Regions from separate parts of the Homo sapiens genome. Here regions 2, 3, 4, 5 and 6 are each linked to region 1. Evidence: promoter capture Hi-C in 16 types of primary human blood cells and fetal thymus (Javierre and others, 2016). All regions are on one chromosome and are shown on one strand. The core of a region is centred on a gene start or on the middle of the fragment in contact, and the rest is flanking DNA. Distances in the headings are between cores, read along the strand shown. Region 1 holds the start of ZNF846 (zinc finger protein 846). Region 2 has its middle 2.7 kb from the start of OR7G3. Region 3 overlaps ZNF317 (zinc finger protein 317). Region 4 has its middle 20 kb from the start of OR7D4. Region 5 holds the start of OR7D2 (olfactory receptor family 7 subfamily D member 2). Region 6 overlaps ZNF558 (zinc finger protein 558).

What was found. Contacts are between HindIII fragments. The CHiCAGO score rates a contact against its expected background, and 5 or more counts as called.
Region 2: a fragment that was not itself captured here is called in contact with the fragment with the promoter of ZNF846 in region 1 in 1 of 17 cell types (neutrophils); the score reaches 5.4 in neutrophils.
Region 3: a contact is called between a fragment that was not itself captured here and the fragment with the promoter of ZNF846 in region 1, in 16 of 17 cell types (naive CD8 T cells, naive CD4 T cells, fetal thymus and 13 more). The highest score is 10.3, in naive CD8 T cells.
Region 4: a fragment that was not itself captured here is called in contact with the fragment with the promoter of ZNF846 in region 1 in 5 of 17 cell types (activated CD4 T cells, naive CD8 T cells, naive CD4 T cells and 2 more); the score reaches 6.1 in activated CD4 T cells.
Region 5: the fragment with the promoter of OR7D2 here is called in contact with the fragment with the promoter of ZNF846 in region 1 in 12 of 17 cell types (erythroblasts, total CD4 T cells, naive B cells and 9 more); the score reaches 10.8 in erythroblasts.
Region 6: a fragment that was not itself captured here is called in contact with the fragment with the promoter of ZNF846 in region 1 in 2 of 17 cell types (non-activated CD4 T cells and erythroblasts); the score reaches 5.1 in non-activated CD4 T cells.

Annotation. Positions count from the first base shown.
Region 1 is chr19:9,767,251-9,770,314 of GRCh38, reverse strand. ZNF846 (zinc finger protein 846) reads left to right here and starts at 1,577. Exons shown (of 6, transcript NM_001077624.3): 1 at 1,577-2,026. RefSeq lists enhancers at 1,293-1,512, 784-1,649 and a silencer at 1,593-1,762. The HindIII fragment of the contact is 9,482 bases long and covers 1-3,064 here.
Region 2 is chr19:9,122,895-9,125,624 of GRCh38, reverse strand. No RefSeq gene overlaps it. Among named protein-coding and RNA genes, the nearest start is that of OR7G3, 2.7 kb to the left of the region's middle. The HindIII fragment of the contact is 3,883 bases long and covers 1-2,730 here.
Region 3 is chr19:9,150,237-9,153,069 of GRCh38, reverse strand. The region is part of intron 1 of ZNF317 (zinc finger protein 317); the gene reads right to left. Among named protein-coding and RNA genes, the nearest start is that of ZNF317, 11 kb to the right of the region's middle. The HindIII fragment of the contact is 1,338 bases long and covers 643-1,980 here.
Region 4 is chr19:9,198,377-9,201,129 of GRCh38, reverse strand. No RefSeq gene overlaps it. Among named protein-coding and RNA genes, the nearest start is that of OR7D4, 20 kb to the left of the region's middle. The HindIII fragment of the contact is 2,921 bases long and covers 27-2,753 here.
Region 5 is chr19:9,177,558-9,180,366 of GRCh38, reverse strand. OR7D2 (olfactory receptor family 7 subfamily D member 2) reads right to left here and starts at 1,388. Exons shown (of 3, transcript NM_175883.4): 1 at 1,244-1,388. The HindIII fragment of the contact is 28,883 bases long and covers 1-2,809 here.
Region 6 is chr19:8,827,517-8,830,489 of GRCh38, reverse strand. The region is part of intron 2 of ZNF558 (zinc finger protein 558); the gene reads left to right. Among named protein-coding and RNA genes, the nearest start is that of ZNF558, 3.3 kb to the left of the region's middle. The HindIII fragment of the contact is 986 bases long and covers 1,012-1,997 here.

The DNA.
Region 1 (3,064 bases), core at 328-2,827:
TATCTACAGTAGGCAATCTATACAGACAGAAAGATTAGCTGTTGCTTTGGACTCTGGGGGTGGGGGTGGGGCTGGATGAGCAGATTGGGTGATCATGGCTAGGGTACTGGGTTTATTTTTGTGGTCATGAAAATGTTCTAAAATTGATTGTGATGATCGATGCACAAATATATGAATATACAAAAAGCCACGAAACTGTACACTTTAAACAGGTTAATTGTATGCTATGATAATTGTATCACAACAAAACTAAAGGCCTAAAGAAGGAACTGAATGTATCAGAGGCACAGAGCATTTTATGGATTAACAGGTTAATCTTTTTTTTTTTTTTTTTGAGACGGAGTCTCACTCTGTCGCCCAGGCTGGAGTACTGTGGCATCGTATCAGCTCACTGCAACCTCAGTCTCCTAGGTTCAAGCAATTCTCCTGCCTCAGCCTCTCGAGTAGCTGGGATTACAGGCGCCCACCACCACACCCGGCTATTTTTTAAAAAATATTTTTAGTAGAGATGGGGTTTCGGCATGTTGGCCAGGCTGGTCTCGAACTCCTGAACTCACGTGTTCCACCCGCCTCGGCTTCCCAAAGTGCTGGGATTACAGGCGTGAGCCACTGCCCCCAGCCCCATCAGGTTAATCTTTCAAACAGGGTGTCGCTGGTCTCGAACTCCTGGGCTCAAGCGATTCTCCCGCAGTAGCTAGGACTACAGCGGGATTATCTTTGTAAATATGTTTATATCCCTGCAGAGGGTTGAAGAAACAAGGAGAAAATCCTGCAGAAAAGAATTTCCCTAGGGTGGTGGCTCACGCCTATAATCCCAGCACTTTGGGAGGCCAAGGTGGAAGGATCACTGGAGCCCAGGAGTTCCAGATCAGCCTGGGTAACAAAGAGAGACCCTGTCTCTACAAAAAAATAAAAATAAAATAAAAATAAATTAGCCAGGCGTGGTGGCACACACCTGTGGTCCAAGCTGCTTGGGAGGCCGAGGGGGGAGGATCCTTTAGGCTCAGGAGTTCGAGACCAGCCTAGGGAACACAGTGAGACCCAAGTGTCTAGAAAAAGATAACTTAGCTGGGCGTGATGGGCCCAACTGTGGTCCAAGCTACTCCGGAGGCCGAGGCGGGAGGATAGCTTCAGCGCAGGAATTCCAGGCTGCAATGATCTATGACCGAGCCACTGCACTCCAGCCTAGGCGACAGACCGGAGCCTTATCTCAAAAAACTAAAAAGAGAAATTAAAAAAGAAAAGAAAAGCACTCGATGAGCATCCCGCTGTCTGCAATCGAAGCCTTAGGTGACGCCTCCACGCGTGCCCCGCCCGCTGCGCCAGTCCCCGCCTCCAACCCGGCCCTTGGCGCTGGGTTTCCTGGTCCGGCGTCGTTCCCAATATCGACAGATTGATCTGGATCCTGGTCCACCTGGGATGCGAGAAAACGGGACTTTTCTGTACGCGTGTCGAAGAGGTGGCCCCAGCTCTTCTCTCAGCTTCACATCATCCTCATTCCAAAGCTCTTGGGGCTCGGCCCCTACACTTAATGCCGTGCGCAACCGGAAGCGGAAGTGCCAGCCGGCGCGCAGCTATACGTATTCCCCGCTCTCCAGCAGCTTCCTAGCTGGGTTTTCACCTCAGCCAGCGCTCATGCTCAACCTAGGCAGGGCGGGGCAGGAGGGCCTAGCGGGAGGCGGAGCGAGGGTCGGAGGGTGACGCTCCGGACTTCTGCTAGGTCTGAGACGCGCCGGCCTCCCGCTGCTGCTCCGGAGAAGCGGCGCCTCCTCCCCGCCAGGACCCCGAGGCGGGGGGTTCCCGCCTTCTCTTCTGAGCGCCTCTTCCCGCTGCGCCCGCATCAGTCTGGGCCTGGCCCAGGGTCCCCGGTGGAGACGTGTTTTTTTCTCCAACCACCGTGCCCCTCTGTTTAAAAGCAGCCAGTCAACCTTTGTGTCCTTTCTCCAGAAGGAAAAGCATCTCAGCTGTTGTGGAAAAGGGCCCCAGCGTCCTCTTGTCACCGACAGGGCGATTGCAGTGCGTTCCGGTGAGCCCTGGACGGAGGAGATGATCTGGCTGTGGGAGGGCATCGCTTATTGAAGTTTGCGAAATTGCTCAGCAGTTAAATGCTTTGTCAAGTGTGCAGGAGTTGTAGGTTTATAGAAATAAAAGCAAATATTGCCACAGTTATAAAGCAAAGTAGCAATACTCCGCTGTGTTTTTGAGATCAAAAGCAGCTGAACTTCCTAGGTCAGTACCTCCCAAAGAGCTTCAAAACGGAGGGGCTTCCAGGAAGTAGGATGCCGCCTTCATTATACCAGTATCAGAAATTACAGTTGTATTAACTGTGAAAGAGACATGTTTTGATTCAGCGTTTTTCCTCTCGTATATATACATATTTTGAGACGGAGTTTCGCTCTTATTGCCCAGGCTGGAGTGCAATGGCGTGATATAGGCTCACTGTAAACTCTGTCTCCCGGTCCAAGCGATTCTCCTGCCTCAGCATGCTGAGTAACTGGGATTACAGGCATGTGCCACCACGCCCGGCTAATTTTGCATTTTTAGTAGAGACGGGGTTTCACCATGTTGGTTGGGCTGGTCTCGAACTCCTGACCTCGTGATCCACCCTCCTCGGACTCCCAAAGTGCTGGAATTACAGGTATAAGCCACCGCGCCTGGCCTTCCCCCTCATATATTTTTATTTATTTATTTACGTTTTAAAGACAGGGTCTTGGTTTGTTGCCCAGGCTATCTGTAGATTGAATATTCTAAACCAAAGAAAATGTGAAAGGCCAGAATATTGAACACCTATTATATATCCTTGTTGTAGACTGATCATTTGTTAATATTTTGCATGTTTTCTGTTTCTTTGCATCTCTTGTGTAGATCAATGTGTATTGGCCGGGTGCGGTAACTTAAACACCTGTAATCCTGGCACTTTGGGAGGCCGAGGTGGGCGGTTCACCTGAGGTTGGGAGTTCCAGACCAGCCCGACCAACATGGAGAAACCCTGTCTCTACTAAAAATACAAAATTAGCCAGGTGTGGTGGGGCATGCCTGTAATCTTAGCTACTCGGGAGGCTGA
Region 2 (2,730 bases), core at 78-2,577, 640 kb after region 1:
TTACAGGCATGAGCCACTGTGCCCCACCTGACCAATGTCTTTGAATACATGAGACCAGAGATCAGATGGTTCAGGGTGATAGTTTTGGAATCGGACCACGTGGACTTGAGTTCTTTTTGGATTGATTGACTGACTAATTGATTTTTGAGACAGTCTCTCACTTTGTTGCCCAGGCTGGAGTGCAGTGGTGTGATCACAGCTCACTGCTGCCTCGAATTCCTGGGCTAAAGCGATCCTCTGGACTCAGCCTGACGAGTAGCTGAGACTGCAGGTGCATGCCACCACACCTGGCTTTTTTTAAATTTTTGTATCAATGCATAAGAGATGTACATTGTTTCAGGATGCATGTGATAGTGTAATACATTTGTATAATCTGCAAGGATTTGTTACTTTAGATATCCATCACCTTAAATATTTGTCTTATCTTTATGCTCCAACCATTCCAATTGTTCTCTTCTAGGTATTTTGAAATATACAATGGATTATTTTGAACTATAGTCACCCTACTGGTCTATCCAATACTAAGTCTTTTTTTAAAAAAAATTAAATTTAATTAAAAATTTAAAAACTTATTTATTTATTTATTTATTTATTTATTTATTGAGACAGAGTCTTGCTCTGTCGCCCAGTCTAGAGTGCAGTGGCTCAATTTCGGCTTACTGCAACCTCCACCTCTGGGGCTCAAGCGATTCTCCTGCCTCAGCCTCCTGAATAGCTGGGATTACAGGCGCCTGCTACTGTGCCTGGCTCATTTTTGTATTTTTAGTAGAGACAGAGTTTCACCATGTTGGCCAGGCGGGCCTTGAACTCCTGACCTCAGGTAATCTGCCCGCCTCAGCCTCCCAAAGTGCTGGGATTACAGGCATGAGCCACCATGCCCAGCTAGCTAATTTATTTTTAATTTAAAAATTAAGTAATTTATTTACAATTTAAAAATCAAGTAATTAATTTTTAATTTTAATATTAAATGATTAATTTCTTTTTTAGAGAGAGCCTTGCTCTGTTGCCGAGGTTGAACTACAGTGGTGTGATTATAACTCACTGCAGCCTCAAACTCCTGGCCTCAAACAATCCTTCTGCCTCAGCCTTCCAAAGTGCTGGGATTAAGCAGTGTGAGCCACTGTGCCCAGGTCGCCTATACTTTAAATCATTTCTAGATTACTTATATTACCTAGCATAATGTTAATCCTATGTAAATAGTTGTATTACTTAATATTGTATTTTTGTAATATTCTTATTTAATATTTTTAAAATTTTCTTTAATATTTTTAATATTTTTGATCCACAGTTGGTTGAGTCCATGAATGTGGTACTGGCAGATATGGAAGGCTGACTGTACTTGGTATATATATTGTTAAAATTGTCAGAATCAAAATGGAGTCACTTATTAAAAAAAAAAAAGGCTGGGTGTAGCGGCTATCAAAAAAGTCTGCACTTTGATAGGCTGAAGTGGGCGGATCACAAGGTCAGGAGTTCGAGACCAGCCTGGCCAACATGGTGAAACCCCATCTCTATGAAAAATACAAAAATTAGCCAGACGTTGTGGCGCATATCTGTAATCCCAGCTACTCAGGAGGCTGAGGCATGAGAATCGCTTGAACCTGGGAGGCGGAGGTTGCAGTGAGCCAAGATCGCACCACTGCATTCCAGCCTGGGCGACAGAGCAAGACTCCATCTCATGAAAAACAAACAAACAAACAAAAATGAAAAAAACAAAAACATCCTGACAAGTAAAGCTAGGGAAGGCCATGAAGAGATTTATTTCACTTGCATGCCTAATAACAAAAACTATCACAAGACTACAAAAACTATCACGAGACGACAAAAACTATCACGAGACGACAAAAACCACAACCTTGCACAAAAGGCTGTTGCAACCTTACACAAAAAATATTTCTGCAAGTACATCTGCCCAGCAACTGCCTGTCCAGCTTCAGACTGGCATCACCCTTGTTATTAGTTATTACTGTGAAGGATAATTATTTCAAAACAATTATGTAACCTTCCTCATTTTTCCATTAAAAAACTTTGTCTTCCTTTACCTCCTTGAATGCATACATAGTTTATGATGGCACGCGTATCGCTATTGCAATGCTTTCTTTGGCAATAAACATCATTTTCTTTTAGATAGCCTCTTTCTGTTATTTAGGTTGACTATCTATAGTTATATTGATTTATGTTTGTGCTGTTGAATTTCAAAGGAATTGAAATCAATATGCTGAAGAGATATCTGCACTCTCATGTTCATTGCAGTATTAGTCACAATAGCCAGGAAATGTAATCAACCTGAATGTCCATCAACATATAAGTGGATAAAGAAAATGTGGTATGGCAGGCACGGTGGCTCACGCCTGTAATCCCAGCACTTTGGGAGCCTGAGGTAGGTAGATTACTTGAGGTCAGGAGTTCAAGACTAGCCTGGCCAACATGGTGAAACCGTGTCTCCACTAAAAATACAAAAATTAGCCAGGCATGATGACGTATGCCTGTAATCCCAGCTACTCAGGAGGCTGAGGCAGGAGAATCACTTGAACCCAGGAGGCGGAGGTTGCAGTGAGCCGAGATCGCACCACTGCACTCTAGCCTGGGCAACAGAGTGAGACTTTGTCTGGAAAAGAAAAAGAAAATGTGGTATATGATAGAGTACTATGCACCCTTTAAAAAGAAGGAAATTCTGTCATTCGCCACAACATGGAGGAACCTGGAGAACATTATGCTAAGTGAAATAAG
Region 3 (2,833 bases), core at 62-2,561, 620 kb after region 1:
GAATAGGAGAATTAATGAAAACAAAAGTTGGTTCTTTCAAAAAGATCAACAAAGGTGACAAAACTACAGCTAGAATTACTAACAAAAAAAGATGCAAGTAACTAAAATCATCAGTGGAAGTGGGACATTACTACCGACCTTACGGAAATTCAAAGGGCTGTAAGAGAATGCCATGAACAATTATGCACCAACACATTAGATCATCTACACTAGCAGTCCCCACCCAATTTGGCATCAGAGACTGGTGTCATGGAAGACAATTTTTCCATGGATGGTGAGGTGAGGGGGGATGGTTTTGGGATGACTTGAGTGCATTACATTTATTGTGCACTTTATTTCTATTATTATTACATTGTAATATATGGTAAAATAATTATACAACTCACCATAATATAGAATTAGTGGAAGCCCTGAGAGTGTTTTCCTGAAACTAGATGGTCCCATCTGGAGGTGATGGGAGACACTGACAGATCATCAGGCATTAGATTTTCATAAGGAGTGTGCAATCTAGATCCCTTGCATGTGCAGTGCACAATAGGGTCTGCGCCCCTATGAGAATCTAATGCTGCTGATGATCTGACAGGAGGTGGAGTTCAGGGGTAATGTGAGTGATGGGGAGCCGCTGTAAATACAGATGAAGCTTCACTCACTTGCCCTCCGCTCACCTCCTGCGGCAGGGCCTTGTTCCTAAAAGGCCAGGGACCGGTACCTGTCTGTGGCCCAGGGCTTGGGGATCAATGCTCTAGATGTATCAAATTCCTTGAAACATACCCAAACAGGCTCTAGAAGAAAAAGAAAATTGAGAGACCTATAACAAGAGACTGAGGCAGTCATCAAAAGCCATTAAATAAAAAGTCCAGGACCAGCTGGGCACGGTGGCTCACGCCTGTAATCCCAGCATTTTGGGAGGCCGAGGCGGGTGGATCAGGAGGTCAGGAGATCGAGACCATCCTGGCTAACACGGTAAAACCCCATCTCTACTAAAAATACAAAAAATTAGCCAGGCGTGGTGATGAGTGCCTGTAGTCCCAGCTACTCGGGAGGCTGAGGCAGGAGAATGGTGTGAACCTGGGAGGCGGAGCTTGCAGTGAGCCGAGATTGCGCCACTGCACTCCAGCCTGGGCGACAGAGCAAGACTCCGTCTCAAAAAAAAAAAAAAAAAGTCCAGGACCAAGGGGCTTCACTGGTGAACCCTACCAAACATTTAGAATTAACATCAAGGACATTATCAAGAAAGTGAATGAGACACAGAATGGTGGAAAATATTTGCAAATCATGTATGTGATAGGGATTTAATATCATTATAAACTCAACAACAAAGACAACCCAGTAAAAAAGTGGGCAGGAGACTTGAACAGAACAGACATTTCTCCAAATTTACAGAAATGAACTGTAAACACATGAAAAGATGATTAACAACATCAGTCATTAAGGAAATAACATCAAAACCACAATACATTGGTGAGGTATGGTGGCCCACACCTCGGGAGGGGATTTAATTTGCTTTGTATGAACATGCCTCCTCTCTCTGGCTTCCACCGCGACTCTCATGACAGCACTGATGTAAGAACCGTGACGCTGCTACTTTAACATCTGACTCAGATCAATAATCAATATTACCACTTTTAAACATTACCAGGGTTATAACAATCTTTTTCAACATCAATTAGTATTTCTGCTATTGGAATTGTTTTAGATATTCAGAAACATTTCAAAACAATAATATAGGAAGTGTGTTTTAACGTATAAACTCTGCCTTGGGGATTCATTATTCAACACCAAATTTGATCTTGGGCCAACTCAAAGATGCATGACGCTTTCATTCTTTTTACAAAGCCCTTTTCTAGTCATTGTGCCTTTGGGTTCTGACATTAAGTCACTGCTGAGGAAGGGGAGAGAGGGTGACAGAGGCTCAGTTCCTGAGGCACAGTATCTCCATCCTCACCTACCATTCATTCATTCATGCTCAACTAACAAGCTTCTGCAGGTCCCATTCCACCTTTCCCCACCAACATTAATGCCAATTCTACAAATAACGACATGTGTAGTGTTTACAAGGTATGAGACATTCTCCTGAGTCTTTCCAGGGCCACTCCTATTTAATCCTCACAACCTCCCGGAATTATTCTCAAGTACCCAGAGAATAAGGCACCAAGGGTCCGAGACACTTGGTCAAGGTCATAGGTGGAAGTTGTGAGCCCAGCTGACGTGACTGCGGAGCCACATCTTGTTGCCTCTCAAAGTGACCTATGTCACCTGTACTGTCCCCTATGTGGGAACTCCTTGACACTACATCTTGACCCTTCCTTTGCCTGACCTCCTGACACATCATCTTGCTCACTATGAATCTATCTCCCTCTTCCTGGGAATGCCACTGCTCTTGCAGCCATAGCCCACTCATCCCAGTCTGTGCTCACATCTCTGGTTGCTCTTTTGAAGACTCTGGCTTGAGATCCCTCCTCTGCCCAGCCCCTAAAGGTCAGGGTTCCCCTGGGCCCCTCTCCCCCATCTCCCACAGGTCCACATTGTGAAACACCCCCACCATTTGGAGGTGCTGACACCCAGGTTCTGATTGCACTTCTGTGAAGGTCTCCCTGTCCCTGAGGCCTCAGTAGACTCCCCTTTAATGCAAGCCCACAGTTCTGCTCATTCCCCTCCCAAGAGTCAGTTCATCAAAACTCAGTTTTCTCATCTGGAAACTGAAGACTTTAACACTGGGTTATGTATGGAACTCTATAGGCTCAGTAAACAAACATTCACTCTAAAATGCCATTATCATTAAAATAAAATGACCACTGACGATTTCACAATTACTTAACAGAATTGTTCATTT
Region 4 (2,753 bases), core at 238-2,737, 570 kb after region 1:
ACAAATAAGTGAGAACGCGTGAAGCTTATCTTTCTGTGCCTGGCTTATTTCATTTAAATTGATGGCCCCCAGTTCCATCCAAGTTGTTGCAAATGACAGGATCTCTTCCTTTTTTATGGCTGCATAATGCTCTATTGTGCACATGTACACAATTTCTTTGTCCATTCATATGTTGAATGGATGGTGAATGCTTAGCTGCTTCCAAATCATGGCTATTGTGACTAGTGCTGTAATAAACATGGGAGTGCAGATATCTCTTCAATATATGGATTCCCTTATGGGGGGGTATATACTTAGCAATGGAATTGCTGTATCTTTTGTTTGTTTGTTTGTTTTGAGATGGAATCTCGCTCTGTCGCCTAGGCTAGAGTGCAGTGGCGCGACCTTGGCTCACTGCAACCTCCGCCTCCCAGGTCAAGCGATTCTCCTTCCTCAGCCTTCCGAGTAGCTGGGACTACCGGCGCCCGCCACCACGCTCGGCTAATTTTTTGTATTTTTAGTAGAGACAGGGTTTCACCATGTTAGCCAGGATGGTCTCGATCTCCTGACCTCGTGATCCACCCGCCTTGGCCTCCTAAAGTGCTGAGAATACAGGCATGAGCCACCGCACCTGGCCCGGAATTGCTGCATCTTATGGTAGCTCTATTTGTAGTATTTTGAGGAAACTCCAACTCGTTCTCCATAATGGATGGACTAACTTGCATTCCCACCAACAGTGTGCAATTGTTCCCCTTTCTCCACATCCTTGTGAGCATTTGCTATTGCCTGACTTTTTGATAAAAGCCATTCTAAATGGGGTGAGATGATATCTCCTTGTAGTTTCGATTTGCATTTCTCTCTCTCTCTTTTTTTTTTTTTGAGATGGAGTCTTGCTCTGTCACCCAGGCTGGAGTGCAGAGGCACGATCTCAGTTCACTGCAACCTCTGTCTCCCAGGTTCAAGTGATTCTCCTGCCTCAGCCTCCTGAGTAGCTGGGATTACAGGTGCCCACCACCATGCCCAGCTAATTTTTGTATTTTCAGTAGAGATGGGGTTTCACCATGTTGGCCAGGCTGGTCTCAAACTCCTGACCTCAAGTGATCCACCCGCCTCAGCCTCCCAAAGTGCTGGGATTACAGGCATGAGCCAATGCGCCTGACCTGCATTTCTCTTAAAAGAGATTTTTATTTCTGATGCCTCCTCTGTGTCAAGCAGGTTAGAGACTCTGGAGAATTAGAGATGAAAGAGACTCAGTTGTTTCTGTCACAATAATCAGTACTTAATTATATAAGGACAAAAATAAAATGTCCTGTGGGAAGTACAGAAACAGTAACTTCAGGTCACAGGATATTTCAGTTGAGTGATATAAAGATTAATCTTAAAATATTAATAACAATTTCTAGAATACACGTTGCCTTTACTTTATGCATCCATCACAAATAGATCCCACAGGGAGCCCCCATGATCTGCTTAATCAATACTGAATGTATCTGTGTCAACTAGAAATCAACTCAGGTGGCAATGTTGAGTCTCAGAAACACTAACATCTTGCCCCCTGCCACACAGATAAGTGGAATAACAGGATTTTAAAAAAATTATAGGTTGATGCAAAAGTAATTGAGGTTTTTGCCATTACTGTTGTCACCAACCTAATAAATGATCAGTCTCTGAGTCTCAGGCATGAACCTTTTTTATGTTTCCCAGCTATCAGAAAGTTGTAAGCAGAGGTAAGAGGTCTTAACCACAGGCACATCGGAGGTGCATTTTCAAACTGTTTCCAGATTCCTGAGTAGGAATGAGGCCAAAACTCTGATTTTATTTCTCCTTTCAGGAGGTGGAGAGCTGCAAGGAAAGCCAGGAACAGGGGCAAGGGAGAGATGCACCCTGAAGGATCCTGTGCCAGTTCTTTCTGGGATCTTTGATGTGATCTCAGCTGCCCTTTCTATACTTGATACAGTGAACGTAGCACCCACTGGTCTAGCTGTGGTCTACCAGGAACCCACTGGTAAGCAGTGAGCACACCAGGGGTCCAGAGTGACAGGGATTCGAGAGGGCAGGTTGGATGCAGGAAGAGGCCTAGCCAAATGCCATGTGCAAGGATTTAGATGGCCTGATTCAAACATGGCTTTACTCCTCTCTACTTCATGAAATACTACAAGTTACATAAAAATGCACAGCTCCTTTCCTCGTGCAAAATAATAATAATGTGTGCACTTATGGATTGCAGAAGGCTATGCAGATAAAATGAAACAAACCACATAGAACACAGAACTGGGCGCCTGGCATTCAGGAAGCCCTCAGGAAAAGTTCATGATGTCATAGTGACTGTCCTCTTCCTCCTCATCCTCATCATCAGCTTCATAATCCTTTTACAGTGTTCATGGAATAGCTTAGAGAGACCTATTTTTTCCTAGCTTCAGTGAGATGTCTATAGCAAGTAGAACCAGTGGAGGGAGAAAGTAAAACTTTGAGTGAGATTTCAGAGTCCCCACCACAATCAAGAACATAAACTCCACAGTTGTCTGAGCTGATATTTTGCACATTGATGTCCTCCTATCTGCCACTCCACTGTCCTGTTTGTCCTGAGGATGAGGAAAGAAGGCTCCCGACCATCCCTCAGCACTCACTGAGCTGCGCTTCCCCTCTGCTGGGCCATGATCATGGAGAGCAGGTCCGCTGTCCTCCCTGCGTGGTGCACGATGGAGGCTCAGGCTCCGTCCTCAGGACTGGCAGGAAGACAGGGTCAGACATGAGCCTCCTGATGCAGACGACAG
Region 5 (2,809 bases), core at 139-2,638, 590 kb after region 1:
GCTAAGGCAGGAGAAATTCTTGAGGCCAGGAGTTTGAGACCAGCCTAGACAACAAAATGAGACACTTGCCTCTACAAAAATAGATTTTTAAAAAATTAGCTACTTGGGAGGCCAAGGCAGGAGGTTTGCTTGAGCCCAGAAAGACCCTGTCTCAAAAAAAAAAAAAGTCAACTTAAACACAATTAATTACAACTAATCAGTGTCATCAGCTTTCTTATGTATCTGCAAACAGCCATGAGAAAAAATAAGAGGAAAAAAAGTCCATTCACAATTGCAATGATAATATATGTAACATCTGGTGCAGAGTGAACATTTAATACATACTTGTTTTGTTTTGCTTTGCTTTGTTGATTTTTTTTTTTTTAGACGGAGTTTTGTTCTTGTTGCCCAGGCTGAAGTGCAATGGTGCAATCTCAGCTCACTGCAACCTCTGCCTCCCAGGTTCAAGAAATTCCCCTGCCTCAGCCTCCCAAATGGCTGGGACTACAGGCACACACCACCATGCCCGGCTAATTTTGTATTTTTAGTAGAGACAGGGTTTCACCATGTTGGCCAGGATGGTCTCGATCTCTTGACCTTGTGATCCACCCGCCTCGGCCTCCTAAAGTTCTGGGATTATAGGCATGAGCCACTGCACCCGGCCGAGAACTATTATATTATACTAGAGAAGAAAAAGGAAGGTGTTAGCAGGTAGACTGAAAGGAATCCACTCAAGGAAGTGCCAGTTCCTACTGACATTGAGAAAGTCACTAGTTTCCAGAATGAAAGGCCATCAGAGGTGGAGGTGACAGAAACAGTTGCAATAGAATCTTTTTTTTTTTTTGAGACAGCGTCTCACTCACTCTGTCACCCAGGCTGGAGTGCAGTGGCGTGATCTTGGCTCATGGCAACCTCTGTCTCCCGGGTTCAAGCCATTCTCCTGACTCAGGCTCCCGAGTAGCTGGGATTACAGGCATCCGCCACCATGCCCAGCTAATTTTTGTATTTTTAGATGAGATGGGGTTTCACCAAGTTGGCCAGGCTTGTCTTAGACTCCTGGCCTCAAGCGATCCGCCTGCCTCAGCCTCCCAAAAGTTGCAATGCCTTAAGACATCTATAACCAGGTAAGGGAATCCTAGAGACATTTTAAAAATCATGAGACATTATCAACCCTGTTACCTCCATCTCTGTTCCTCCCCACACTACTTTTTAAATCCTTTTCACACACGGTACTAACAAGGATAGTGTGAGTCACTCAACTGACATTGCTTGAAAAAAAAAAATGCTGGTATGACGTCTTCCTCCCCTGACTGTTGAATGCTGAAGACAGAATCTAGCAGGGAAAGGCGGGGAGATGGAACTTGTCATGAAGTCATCCTAACTCTCCTCTCTAAGATGCATGAGTGTGGCGTCAGGAAACTGTCCAGGTGAGGTGTTTTAGGGAAGTATTTATGGTTTCTCAAGCCCCAGGGAGCTGATGTCTCATCCTTCCTCATTAAATCCACTGTTCCAGTGATGTTCTACTCTCCAACCCATTCGGCTCCCTTGGGATCAAGAGCAAATGGCAGAAAGGTATGATGTGTTCTAATTCTGTTTCCAAGAAGGCAGCTCTGAAGCCAGGTGACTCTCTCTGCACCTCCCACCCTCTTGGGGCCTCTTTATTCTTGGAAGAGCTTTCATCACTATTGGTTTGGCTTTGAGATAAAGAGGTTTTCCCCTCTGGAATGTGTCGCAGAAGCTACAAAGACCCATCTCTCTGTAATCCCAGTGCCTAAGGGTCTCAAGGTAACACAGAAGAAAATAGAGATGCAACTATTTCCGTGAATCCCCTGTGATCGCGTTGGCTGCAGGGCGTTAAACAGGCTGTGGACATGTCGTAAGTCCTGTTTCAAGAGAGGGAGAGTCAACCATTGCGAGATACAGCAAGATTTCTCTTCAAACAGCCTGCTCAGCTTCTTATTCTCTAATTCCAAGTACCCCCCCCACACACTTTCTTCTCCTTTTCTTCTTTCTGATTTTGCTGCATGCCCAGATATGCCATAGCCCCAGCTCACATTTCTTTCCTTATTTAAGAATAGACTAGCTGTCTATTCCTCTGTAGAAGACCCCTTCCTCCTCTCCTCTGTCTCCCATCACACACCCACCTTATCTAAGACAGTTTAAATGTGTAACCAATCAAGTCTAGTTTAGATTGTGCTGTCCGACCCCAGCCAATGGGGAAAGGACACACAAAGTCAAGAGTCGCATTAAGAATAAAAGTTGCTACTCTCCTTTGTTCAGGGTGCTCTTGTAGCAGCCAACCCTACGAGAAGCACCCTTCTGCGCAGAAGTAAATTTGCTTTGCTGAGAAATCCTTTGTTTGAGTGCTCATTTTTCTTTATGACTCCAAGATTTATTTCTAACAACCATGTAAAACGATGCTATAAGGCTAAGCAAAATAAAGGCTGAAGAATATCCATCACATTTAATGGCATGGAAAACATTAGAAACAGCGATCTGGGTAGAGTGATGGGGAAAATTTCATTGATGGCAAGTTTGGGAGGAACTGAACAATAAGAAAAAAGTTTTTTTCAATTTTTAAAATGATGGTAAAATATACATAACATACAGTTCACCATCTTAACCATTTTAAGTGTACTATTCAGTGGCATTAAGTATATTCACAGCAGCCATCACTATCCTCCATATTCAGAATCTTCTCATCTCCCCAAGCTGAAACTCTGTCCCGTAACACTCATCCCTCATTCACCCTCCCCAGCCCCTAATGAACCACCATACCACTTTCTGTCTCTATAATTCTGACTGTGGTACCTACTTCATAGACGGAAGT
Region 6 (2,973 bases), core at 255-2,754, 940 kb after region 1:
GTTTTGAGTAATGGGATTTTTTTTTTCCTAATGAGATTTGAAAACATTTGGAAGAATATTAAGCAACAACTTATAGATTGAAGGGTAGGGAACTGGTTTCCAAAAAGATTGTCCTCTGCACCTTGCCTCCTGTATTAGTCCTTTTTCACACTGCTATAAAGAACTACCTGAGAGTTTTCACACTGCTATAAATAACTCCCTGAGACTGAGTGACTTACAAAGGAAAGAAGTTTAATTGACTCAGTTCTGCATGGCGGGGGAGGCCTCAGGAAACTTACGATCATGGCAGAAAGCAAAGGGAAAGCAAGGCACGTCTTACATGGCAGCAGGAGAGAGAGAGAAGACATAAACGCCAAACTTCTAAACCATCAGATCTTGTGGGAACTTACTATCAGGAGAACAGCAAGGGGGAAGTCCGCCCCCATGATTCAGTCACCTCCTACCAGGACCCTCCTCTGACACATAGGGATTATTACAACTCGAGATGAGATTTGGGTGGGGGGACACAGAGCCAACGATATCACCTCCTAATAGGAATTAACTTTGTTTCTTAAAACTTCTCTGAAATAACAGTATGGTGATTCATATTGCAGAGAATCATGTTAAGTAATCTAGTATTAAATTGTGGGGTTTCTACTAATTGTGTGTGTGTTCACCTTTTCCATTCTAGCTTTCCTACAGCATTCTTGAAGGAATGTTTACTTATCATGCAATAGATATTATTTGAGTGCACAGTTAATGGTGACCAACCATCCTCATTTTTTCAGGACCAAGGGGTTTGCTAGGGCACAGGGCATCCAGTGTTCAAACCGGGACAATCCTTGGCAAACCAGGTCGCCTCCATGAGTCAGGTCCTAGGTCAGATGCACAGGGACCCTGGAGGACCTGAAATGGCCCCTGTCCTACATAAAGTTTACCTTCTAACAGGGAAGATAAATTTTAAACCATGAATGACAGGAGTGATGTGGGAGCTTGGCACTAGTGAACTTGATCAGAGGGAACAGGGAAGCTTTCTTGGGAAGGATATTTAGCTTGAGAGCTTAAGTTGTTACAGAACCAAACTGGGGTCTGCTCACCTGGTGGTGCAGTGAAACCAGATGTCTATATTGAGGGTTGCTACGATAGATAGAAAGGCTTTTATTGCACAGCACTAAGCAAGGAGGACCAGACATTAAATGTTCAAATCCTGGCCTCCCCAGTGGCTTTTAGGCAAGGAATTTTTTTTTTTTTGAGATGGAGTCTCACTCTGTTACCCAGGCTGGAGTACTGTGTTGCAATCTCAGCTCACTGCAACCCCCGGCCTCCCGGGTTCAAGCAGTTCTGCCGCAGCCTCCTGAGTAGCTGGGATTACAGGCGCCTACCACCATGCCCGGTTAATTTTTGTATTTTCAGTAGAGACGGGGTTTCACCATGTTGGCCCGGCTGGTCTTAATCTCCTGACTTCGTGATCCACCCGCCTCAGCCTCCCAAAGTGCTGAGATGATACAGGCATGAGCCACCACACCCGGCCTTTTTTTTTTTTTTAATGAGACAGAATCTCACTTGGTCACCCAGGCTGGAGTGCAATGGCACGATCTCAGCTCACTGCAACGTCTGCCTCCCAGGTTCAAGTGATTTTCCTGCCTCAGCCTCCCCAGTCCCTAGGATTACAGGCACATACCACCACACCTGGCAAATTTTTTGTATTTTGAGTAGAGACAGAGTTTCACCATGTTAGCCAGGTTGGCCTCAAACTCCTGACCTCAGGTGATCCGCCTGCCTAGGCCTCCCAAAGTGCTGGGATTACAGACATGAGCCACCGTGCCCGGCTAGGCAAGGATTTCTGAAGGCAATGGTAAGTTACAGAAAAGCAGAAGCTACAGGCAAAATCATAAAGCAATACATGGAGGTTACACACTGGTTTAGACTTAAAAGGGCAAGGATGTCTTGAAGCAGGAGCTTGTCATAGGTAGATTCAAAGATTTTTCTGATTTGTAATTGGTTAAAGAAAAGAAGCTTTGTTTAAAAATTTAGAGTCAGTAGGAAAATGTTAACTGGCTGGGAGAAGTGACTTTCTCCAAGCCCCTCAAGAAGAAACTTAGCACAAAGAACGCTGAAGCTCAGCCTTCATGTCCCGCTTATCTGGGGTCTCTGAGCCAGCAGCTCCATTTGGTGGGGTCCTCAGTGGGAGTCCCAGCCTCTGAAAGGCAACTCAGGGACGCATGTTAAGATGTTATCTTTAGTTTCCATGGGGAAAGCGAACATCTCTGGAGCCTTAACTTCTTTGGCTGTTGTTTTAGGTTACTATTACCTTCCTGTTTAACAAGTTCCATATTTACTTTTGGGGCTAGCTGGATGCTCGGAATTTCCCTTAAAGGAACTTCAGGATTTTCCTTTATTTTCCCACTTGGGGTTCACAGGCCCCTGAAAAAGGGAATTGCTGCTCCATCTCCAAGTTGGGGTCAGATGTAGCTAGTCATAGGGCTCGACTAGAGTGAGGGGACAGGGTTATGTCCAAGAGAGCACTGCCGTCGAAGAAGCTGTGTAAGGAAAGGCCCTGCAGCAGGAGAGAGGCTGCCACGCTCCCTGCACTGGGAACACAGGGATGGCTGAAGCCGAGACAAGAACAGGGAAAGAAGCTGGGCGCAGTGGCTCACACCTGTAATCCCAGCACTTTAGGAGACCAAGGTGGGCTGATCACCTGATGTCAGAAGTTCAAGACCAGCCTGGCCAACATGGTGAAACCCCGTCTCTACTAAAAATACGAAAATTAGCTGGGTGTGGTGGTGCACACCTGTAGTCCCAGCTGCTCGGGAGGCTGAGACAAGAGAATTGCTTGAACCTGGGAGGCTGAGGTTGCAGTGAGCAGAGATTGCACCACTGCATTCAGCCTGGGTGTAAGAGTGAGACTCCTCAAAAAAAAAAAAAAAAAAAAAAAAGAATAGGGAAAGAAGTGTGACCAAGACCAAGATCAAGAGGGAGGCAGAACCATAC